2 separate regions of the Homo sapiens genome follow, and region 2 is linked to region 1. Evidence: promoter capture Hi-C in human tissues and cell types (Jung and others, 2019). All regions are on one chromosome and are shown on one strand. Each heading gives the region's core, a stretch centred on a gene start or on the middle of the fragment in contact. The rest is flanking DNA. Distances are from core to core; before and after follow the strand shown.

Region 1 (5,027 bases), core at 1-2,500:
AACGGTCACTGCCACCCCAGAGTGCGTGGCAGGAAAACCCGAACCCTGGGGCCTCAGTGGCTTCACACAGAAGCAAGTAATGGGACAAAGAGTCAAAGCTGTGTGCTCCCTACGCTCCTAAAAACCCAACACTGACGCTGCCCACAGTTCTCTGTTTCATTAAACACAAGTCCCAATGTCACCTTCTTAGACATTTTTCCTATGTAACTGAAGGCAAAACACATTAAATATTTGCTCTCGTCTTCCTATGATGAGAGTTAGCTAGCAGGCTCATAAATAATCCATTGACCAGGTTCACTTTTCTGGACAAAACTGATGGTAAAAATACATACACAAAGTCTTTGTAATGTCTGATTCAGAAATTCTACCCCTCTCAAATTCTTCAGAGTCCCAAATGGAAAAGGAACAATTCAATATGCAAAAGCCCCAGTTCAGAAGAAAATCTGCTCCTTAGCCCAAGACCCAAATCCACTCTTGAGCTCCAGAGAGCTTTTTTTCAAGAACAAGTTTGAATGTACACAATTTTCAAGCAAATGATGGTTATATCCTTCAACCACGTAGCACAGTCGTTGGAGTTGGAGTTTCACATACATTCTGAATGGCCTGTGAGGTGTCTGAGAGCGCCTCAGCTCTGACAGTGAAACCACCCAAGCGCACGGAGACTCGGCCCACTTAGGCGCCACTCAGAGATTTCTCTAGCTGTCTGGGCATTTGTGTCAACCAGAACTCTCCCTTTGCATAAAGCCACCTGCACGCGATGACAGCAAAGTAAAGATCAAACATAAACCATGGGTTGAAACGAAAGCAAGCAACTCTTCCCAAAGCGCAGGACAGCACTTTGCTCAAGACCCTCTTTAAGGGGTCTTTCACGGGTCCTCAAGAGGTTGCAAAGCCCCTGCAACAATAGACAAAGGAGCCCCCTACGCCCGCCCACTTCGAGCACTCCACGTTCCTCGTCTCCCACTCTGGCCGGTCAGCTTCAGCTCTGGCTCTTGCTGAGCGTGGAGGGCGCAGGGGCAGGATCCGGCGCCCACCGCTGGGGCGCATGCACCTCCTCGCCTCCTCGCAGGGCGGTGGGGCGCAGCGGTTCTATCCCCCTCCCCGAGGCGGGGAAGAAGGTCTGGAAAGAAACGTGGGTTCGAGGCGGAGAGGAAAAGCGGACCCACCTGCCAGGCTGCGCGGGGAGGCTGGTCCCGGGCTGGGCAGGCGGGCTGGCCTCGCGCCCTCGAGGCACCCGGCGGCGCTGGCTGTGCGGAGGGGCGCCGGCGCGGCCGTATTTGTACCCGCGGGCCCTCACATGGTCTGATCTCTAGATAGCCGCCGCCAAAGAGCTCTTGAAGAATTTTTGCGTCACTTTGAGGCGAATAAACTTAATGCTTCCCCGCGGCCGCGGCTCCGCGCTCCCGCTGGATGGGGTTGCGCTCGCCAGGGAGGGGCCGCGCTACGGGGCGGGGTGCGCGCCCGACCCCAGAGCCAGGAGGGGAGGGACCCCCGACACACACACACGCTCGCAGGGAGGAGCGGAGCGCGGAGCAGCCGGCAGGGCAGGGCCGAGCGAGGAATCCTGACTTTCCTGCTCTTTAACTTTGCGGGAGGGGGGAGGCTGCACAAAGGAGCAGGTGTGCGCCTCCCCTGCCGCCCCGCGCCCACAGGACGGCACACAGGGGTCTGCTCGTGCCGCTTTCTCTTGACCTCGGACACCTCCCCATCGTCCCCATCCCGAAAGCTGCTCTCTCTTTCTTCCTGGGACCTAGCAGTACTCGATACCCATGCGTTTATCTGACTGACCGGCTGGGATGTGAGCTCAGCTTAGAGGCCCTTGTCTAATTCCTCTCCGTCCCCAGAGTCTCACAATAAAGACTTCCACAATGAAGGAATGAAGAACTGGTTCTCATTTTGTTAACCAGCTACAGTTCAAAGCTGCGTCAAAAAGGAGCACAGTGCTTTGGGAGGCTGAGGCGGGAGGATTGCTTGAGCCCAGGAATTCAAGACCAGCCTGGGCAACACAGCAAGACCCCATCTCTAGAAAAAAAATTTTTTTAATTAGCCGGGCGTGGTTGCTCGCGCTTGTGTTCCCAGCTACTCAGGAGGCTGAGGTGGAGGATCAGCTGAGCCCGGGAGGTCGAGGCTGCAGTGAGCCGTGATCGAACCACTGCACTCCAACCTGGTGACAATTTGAATTATCTGAAAGGGCCCAGCAGGAGCCTATTGTTTTGAACCATGTGCATGTAGTTTTGATAATTTTTTCAAAAAGTTTAAAAATTGATTTAATGTTAATATCCTTTTTGCTAAAATTATTTAAAACTTTAAAAAGGGCACATGCAGTACTTGCTTTGGGTTGTCCCTGAGGCGGAAAGGAGAGGGCTCTACCTCTCCCCAAGAGGAGGCCAGGAACGATAGGAAGTAGAAGACCGAAAGGAAATAGCAGTGACAAGTTTGCAGCTCCAGAGAAGCCACCGCCCCTTGTACTTGGAGGAACTGACCCCTGAAAACTGTGCGGCCGGTTGGGCTGAGCGTCTAGAGGGACTGAGCTGGACAACCACGGGCAAGCGAGGGCAGCTCCCAGCGGGTGGAGTCCGCGCGGGATTCTGGTGCCACCTAGACGCCAGGGCGGGGACCGCAAGGTGGGCGGGAGGCTTGGAGGCCGGGATGCGGGGGAATACTGGTAGGGTGCAAGGAGAATGCTGGAGGGGTGCAGGGGGGATGCCGGGGGTGCATGGGGGGATGCTGGGGGGTGCAGGGGGGATACTGCGAGGGGTGCAGGGGGGATAATGGGGGTTGCAGGGGAGATCCTGGGAGAGGTGCAGGGGGATGCTGGAAGGGCTGCAGGGGGGATGCTGGGGGTGCAGGGGAGATGCTGGGGGGGCTGCAGGGGGGATGCTGGGGGTGCAGGGGGGATGCCGCGAGGGGTGAAGGGGGGGATAATGGGGGATGCAGGAGCGATCCTAGGAGGGGTACAGGGAGTTGCTGGGAGGTTGCAGGGGGGATGCTGGGAGGGCTGCAGTAGGGACATTAGGGGTTAGGTGCTGGCATTCAGAGCGGCAACGCCAGGCGGGAGAATCCCCAACAAGCTTGGGAATTTCACCCCCAGGGGCAGCGCCTGCACGGGAGTGGGGCCTCCTCCTTTCAGATGAACACAGTTGTCTGCTGCCTCCCACGTTCCACTTCTTAAATGAGCATGTTTGTGCTGTATAGGCAAGGGCAACAGAAAACGCAAAGTGTCCTTTCCAGGAGGGCCAAAGGAGGGGGGCAGGGACGCTGGGAAGAGGCGCCAAAGCGGAGGACGGCTGCAGGGGTGACTTCAGCGCTTGGCTACCAAGACCAGGTCTGTCCAGTGTGACTTCTTAGCACTTCTTAATTGTGCAGTCTCGCCACTTCTGATCTTCCTTCTAGACTCTTTCTAGCCGAAGATGCATTCCTGCCCAGCGCGCAGCCCCTCCCTATGGCACTGCCCTGTTCTGTGCAGGTGCTGCCTAGAGAGTGGGCACCCTGTGGACCTGGGTCAAATCCCGGCCCCCACCCTGTACTGTGGTGTGGGCTTGACCGAGCTCCTTAACCTCAAGCTGTCTGGCCTTTGTGTCTCTGTTTGTGAAGTAGGGAGGATGATCTCAGTGGGCACTGCCCAGCTGTGGGTGGGGAAGGGGCCAACTCCTTGCAGGCCCTGTGCGCTGGGCCCTTCCTCCAAGGGGGCCTTCGACCCCTCCTCTCTCTGGCCGGGTGGTCCCATCTCCTCCCCTCTTGCTCCCCAGCTGCGGGCAACCACCATTAGCAAATGACATTAGAATTACACAGACGGCCCCGCCCTGGTTCCCCCTGCCTCCATGGCAGAGTCCGCACACAACTGGCCCAGACCCTCCCCCTCTCTCTAAACAGGTGTTTCTCTTCCTCCTGCCCTGGGTACCATCCCACAGAGAGGCCAGGCCCACCTGCAGGTCCTCACCTCCACAGAGCCAGCCTCTCTTGAGCAGCTCCGCTCTGCCTTCTGATACTCATCGCCACAAGCACCTTGTCCTTCCTCGGCCTCCCACTCCCTCCCTCTGAGCCCGCGCCCTGCTCCCCTGCCTGGCGGTCAGTCGACTGCCCCGCCCCGCCTCCAATTCAGGTGGACAGGCTTCAGCGTCCACTACCGGGGAAGAGGCAGCCCCGCACCCGTGCCTCCCCCCGCCTCTGGGCCGCTCCTTCCCAGCCTGAGCCTGACCGCATGAGGAAGGCACAACCTCTCTGCTCCAGAGACCTGGAGAGGCCGGGAGGCCCTGTCCTGGGCATGGAAGGCAGGAGGGAGCCCTGAGTGCGGCAGGAGGGAAGCAGCGCTTCAGGGGAAGGATCTAATGGCTGTGACCTGCGTGGGCTGCAGGTAAGAGTAGGGGGGAAGGGGGTTGTCGTGGTGGTTGGGACAGACGGGTTCCTTAGAATGTGAATGCAGGCGTCAGCTGGTGGCCGCAGGGAAGAGATGCAAGCCAGAAACCCAGCAGGCACCTGCGAAGCTTGGTGCTGGTGGTGTATAGGGACAGCCAGGGAGATGTCAAGGGCGACAGGTCCTGGGCAGCTGGGAAGAGGCTGCCTGGCAATCACCGCACAGCAATAGTTTTTCTTTGTTCACCTGCTTGAGCCCAGAAATAGTGGGGCTTAGAAGCTGCTCTGGGGCTCAGAATAAATACAAGCTTTCACTTTAAGAGGAAAGGGGCACATAAATATTTACACCTGCCCCAAACACCACCAAGAAAACCCACTTCCTGGAAGTCTCAAAGGCCAGCAGTGAGTCCCCTGTGGAGCCAGCCAGGACCGAACCATGCGAATCCCAGGCTCTCCCTCCGGAAGCCCTTGGTGCCATCTGTCTGTCCTGTCTCTGCCCTGTTTATACAATAACGAAAGAAGAAGGCCCACCCCTCCTTGTGGGCTTTTTCTCAGGCCCAGGAAAATGCTGACAATATTCAGTCCTTAGAGTGTCATCTTGCTCCATTCCCACCAGCACCTCCCCGACACCCCTGGTTTTTCCTGGGACCCCCAGTTTTTCCTGGCATGGTTCT
Region 2 (5,027 bases), core at 1,777-4,276, 310 kb after region 1:
AATAATGATCTATATTCCTTTGGTTATATACCCAGTAATAGTACTTCTGGGTGAAATGTTAGCTCTGTTTTAAGTTCTTTGAGAAAACTCCAAACTGCTTTCCACAGTGGCTGAACTAATTTACATTCCCACCAACAGTGTGTAAGCATTGCCTTTGCTCCATGGTTTCACCAGTGCCTGTTGTTTTTTGGCTTTTTAATAGTAGCCATTCTGTCTAGTGTGAAATGGGATCTCATGTGGTTTTGATTTGCATTTGTCTAATGATTAGTGATGATGGGCATTTTTTCATATGCTTGTTGTCCACTTGTATGTCTTCTTTAGAGAAGTGTCTTTTCATGTCTTTTGCCCATTTTGTAGTGGGGTTATTTGGGGTTTTTATTGCTTGCTGATTTGTTCAAGTTTTTTATAGATTTGGATATTAGGCCTTTGTTGGGTGCCTAGCTTGTGAATATTTTCTCCCATGGTGTAGGCTGTCTGTTTACTCTGTTGATGGTTTCTTTTGCTGTGCAGAAACTCTTTATTATAAAGTGTATAAAATTTATAATCAATAAATGTACATTTGCCGATTCAATAAGTCAATCACATTTATTGATTTACAACATAATTTACTTAGGTCCCACTTGTCACTTTTTATTTTTGTTGCAATTGCTTTTGGAGACGTAGCCAAAAATTCTTTGGCAAGGCTGATGTAGAGAAGGATATTTCCTAGGTTTTCTTCTAGGATTTTTATAGTTTGAGGTCTTATATTTAAATCCATGGTAGGATAGCACCTCCCTGTCCCTTTGAAGTGAACCATGTTACCTGCTGTGAGCAGTGAAGTGGAGCAGAAGTCACAGGTGCCATTTCTGGGCAGAAGCTTTGAAGGGACCATGGTGAGCCACCCCATCATTTCTTCTGCCTAAGCAGTTTTGGGGGCACAGAAGTCGGGTGTTATGGGCTGAATTGTGTCCCCCACCCCCAAGTTGATACGTTGAAGTCCTAACCCCAAGTGCCTCAGAATGGGATTGTGTTTGGAGATGGGACCTTTAAAGGTGTAATTAAGGGGAAACGAGGTCATATGGGTGAGCCCTCATCCAATCTGTCTGGTGTCCTTATAAGGAGAGGAGATGAGGACACAGACACAGACCGAAGACCACATGGAGACACAGACAAGAGGGTGGCCACTTATAAGCCAAGGAGCCAGGCCTTAGAAGAAACCGATTCTGCTGATACCTTAGTCTTGGACTTCTGGGACCCCGAACTGTGAGAAACAATATTTCTGTTATTTAAGACCTCCATCTGTGGTATATTCTTACCGTAGCCCTAGCAAACTCGTATTGATTTTTGATACCAGGAAGTGGAATGCTGCTCTAAAAAATACGCAAAAATGTGCAAGTGGATAATGAGTAGAGGCTGGAAGAGTTTGGAGGTGCATGCTGCAAAGGCCTAGATGGTCTTTTTTATATGTTTAATTTCTGGTCAAAAATATTTTAGTTGTTTTATAGAGTTCTGGGAAAATAATTACCTAAGGAAAAGAAATAGCATTGCTTATAGGCGGGTTTGAATATTAGCCCTGTAGCTTTGCTGAGAAATTGAGAAATTCTTCTTGGTTAGAGTCCTGAATTACATTAAATGGAGGGATAGGGTTAAGGTGTTTATTTTGTGTTTTTTGCTTTCAGCTTGGTGTTTTTGGTTGTTGTTGTTGCCCCAAGTGAGTCCAAAACCCAACCGGGAAAAGAACATTAAATCTTAAAACTTGAGAACCTTCTTTGACTCCATGGCCCATGTTCCAGATATACTAGGATGTGGTTGGGCGGCCCAGGGCTTCAGGTGGCTCTTCCCCCATGGCTTTGCTGGGTGCAGCCCAGGCAGCAGCTCTCACATGTTGGAGTTTGATGCCTGAGGCTCTCCCAGGGTGGACTTGCACACTGCTGGCTCTACCATCCTGGAATCTTGGGGATAGCCTCTTCCCCACGGCTCTGCTGGGCATTGCCCTAGTGGGAACGTTCTGTGGTGTCCCTGCCCCTGTGGCAGTTTTCTGCCTGACCCCAAGGCTGTCTGGGACATACTTTGAAATGCAGGTGGAGGCAGCCATATCCCACAGCTATTGCACTCTGCACACCTGCAGAATGAGCACCACGTGGATGCTCCAAAGAGTTTTCTGCCTGTGTCCTCTGGAGGGGTGATAGCATGTCCCCCACTCCACCAGGGCCCATTGAGCAACACTTGGAGCAGCCAAGGAGCACCACAGCACAGTGTGGGAACCAGCGACTTCAGGGAGTGCTGGGCAGCAAGCCCCAAGGTCCTCAGGGGTCCTCAGGGCGCCCCAGGGCCTTTCTTGGAAACCGTACTGCCGTCAGTGCCCTGGCACCATGGGCCTGTGACGAGAGTGCGGCCTGAGTGATCCACACAATGCCTTCAGGGTCGCTCTTCCATTGTCCTGGTGAGGAGCACAGCCCTGATCCACGCAGGCCTCCTGACCCACACCCTCGTGTTCGCTCCCAAACACACTTTCTTATCTGTTCAAAACGGGCAGGCTGAGAAGGCTAAAAGTTTCCCAAATCTTTAAGTTCTGCTTCCCTTTTGATTATAAGTTCTGTCTCTAAATCATTCCTCTTTTTCTTTCATTTTCCTATAAACGTTCAAGACAATCAAGCCGCTCCTTCAATACTTTGCTGAGATATTTCTTCTGCCAAATTTCAGTTACATCACTCACAAGTTCTGCCTTCCACCAAACACTAGTGCTTTGCCACTTTATGGCAAGCGTCACTCACCTTTCCTCCAGTTTCCATTTACCTCTTCTTGATTTCCATCTGAGACTTCATCAGAATGACCTTTCCTTTCCATATTCTTTTTTTTTTGTTTGTTTTTTAGAGACTGGGAGCCACCGACATGCCAGGAGACAGGCCTGGAACAGAACCTTCCTGCACAGCCTCAGAAGAAACCCACCCTGCTGACACTTTGATCTTGGACTCATGGCCTCCAGTACTGTGAGACAGTAAGATTCTGTTGTTGAAGGTGCCCAGTCTGTGGTACTGTAAAACAGCCCTAGGAAACTAACATAGCCTATTAGCCTACAGGGTGAAGAGATGGAATTCGCAATGGACCTCCAGGCTTACTGTCTACAGCTCCCAAAGTGTGCTGTCGGACCCTTGGGTGTGTGTAGGTATGCAAGATAATTTTGGGTGGTGCAGAGTGAATAATGTCAACTTACATAATGGATTTATCTTACTGGATAAATCACGGGTTCCCTCCTGTTTGGAACCAGGCTGCACAGCAGGAGGTGAGCAGCCAGCCAGTGAGCAAAGCTTCATCTGTAGAAACAGCCGCTCCCCATCCCTTGCATTACCACATGAGCTGTGTCTCCTGTCAGATGAGTGGTGCCATTAGATTCTCATAGGAGCATGAACCCTACTGTGAACTGCGCATGCCAGGGATCTAGGTTGTGTGCTCCTTATGAAATCTAATGCCTGATGATCTGTCACTGTCTCCCATCACCCCCAGATGGGACCATCTAGTTGCAGGAAAACAAGCTCAGTGTTCCTACTTATTCTACATTATGGTGAATGGTATAATTATTTCATTATATATTACAGTGAAATAATAATAGAAATAAAGTGCACAATAAATGTAATGGGCTTGAATCATCTCCGCATCATCCTTTCCCCTTCTCCCGGGTCCGTGGAAAAGTCTTCCATGAAACTGGTCTCTGGGACCAAAAAGGTTGGGGACCACCGGTATAAATGCTTCTAAGAATAGTTAAGCAAATTAAGGTTTACATGCTGCTAAAAATATGGGTTTCAATGCTAAGAAAAATGGATGCACGTGAAAACACTCTCTTGCTGTGGTCCAGGGAATCTAAACCATTCTAACAGAGAAACGTGCAGCTTGGAGCTGGAGCTGCCCTCCGACATCCTGTCCACCTCATATCCCTGCACCACACACGCATGCACACATGCAAGCAGACATGTACACATGCATACGTGCATGCACATGAACGCACACACACGCACACATGCACATAAATACACGTGCATATACCTGCACACACACACACTCACACACACACACACACTCTCACTGTGCTTCATGCCCTAAGGTGGCCTGGGAGGGAATGCGTGTTTTTAAGGGGAATGAAGATGACTCAGGCCCCTCGTTCTCCTGGCGTTTGCACCAGTGTCTTCTCTGCAGACCATGCTTCAGTCTCTTTCTTGGCTCTCTCTCTTAGTGAAAGCAAGAAGCAGAGCCCCTGCGTGTACCTGGCTGCTTAGGGTGCAAGCCAAGTTCACAAGCTTCCCGGGGAGCCTGGTGAGAAGAAGGCACTGCAGAGCCTCCCCAAAAGAGGCGTCAACTTTTGGTGGATCCTTGAGCCTGGGAAAATGATAGACGGGACATCACAGTTCATCAGAAGACACAAACAAAATCCACTCAGGAAGAGCAGCAGTCAAAGGTTTTATTCTCTCGGAGAAGGTTCTCGGGGGCTGTAAGCAGCAGGCAGAAGACTTTATTGCATGTGTGGTTAGGTGATGGCAACCTCCAGTTTTCACTGGGAACTGGGATCAAGAGTGACCCGACCTCCTCCGCAGCCCCTAGGGATGAGTCAGCTGCCTCTTCTGCATGCTGACAAACCTTGGCTCTCATTTATGCCCCACCGCAAGCCAGCCACACCCCTGCCTCACCAGCATAACCACCTCCTCCTGACTTTAGCCCTGACAGCACTGCTTCCTGGTAACCTTCCCCCTCCCACCATGGTCCAGGCAAGCCTAAATGCCAGCGCCCTCCACCCACCCTTCCTGGGTGCCACTCTACTGTCTGCTTACCCAGATGTCTTAACCTGGCTTTACCAAGATGGAACAGACAACAGGGATGAGCCCCCAGCCTCTCCCAGGAAGGTTTGGCAAAATGCTCTCCATTTAGAAGCAGGGGCAGTGACGCGGCCTAGGGATGACCCCAGGCTTGTCACCCAAGCAGTAAGAAGGGCAAGGAGCCCAGTTTCATGCCCTTACCCTGGGAGGATGTGGCCAGGGCTCCACAAGTCCCTCGGGGGT

Evidence for each region. The method cuts DNA at HindIII sites, captures the fragments that hold promoters and counts their contacts. A contact is called where the count stands out against the background at its distance.
Region 2: a contact is called between a fragment that was not itself captured here and the fragment with the promoter of SLC6A4 in region 1, in 4 of the 25 tissues and cell types used here (IMR-90 fibroblasts, dorsolateral prefrontal cortex, mesenchymal stem cells and 1 more).

Annotation. Positions count from the first base shown.
Region 1 is chr17:30,234,447-30,239,473 of GRCh38, forward strand. It overlaps SLC6A4 (solute carrier family 6 member 4), which reads right to left and starts at 1,251. Exons shown (of 15, transcript NM_001045.6): 1 at 1,167-1,251. LOC105371720 (a long non-coding RNA gene) reads left to right here and starts at 3,052. Exons shown (of 3, transcript XR_007065698.1): 1 at 3,052-3,325; 2 at 3,874-4,354. RefSeq lists promoters at 1,035-3,061, 1,035-2,819, 1,035-1,329, 1,225-3,049, 1,230-3,075 and 1 more, cis regulatory regions at 1,330-2,819, 1,691-2,515, 2,392-2,431, 2,659-2,829, 2,698-2,717 and 2 more, a silencer at 1,485-1,667 and an enhancer at 3,883-4,783. The HindIII fragment of the contact is 6,948 bases long and covers 1-3,777 here.
Region 2 is chr17:30,546,078-30,551,104 of GRCh38, forward strand. No RefSeq gene overlaps it. Among named protein-coding and RNA genes, the nearest start is that of GOSR1, 71 kb to the left of the region's middle. RefSeq lists an enhancer at 4,941-5,027. The HindIII fragment of the contact is 6,952 bases long and covers 1-5,027 here.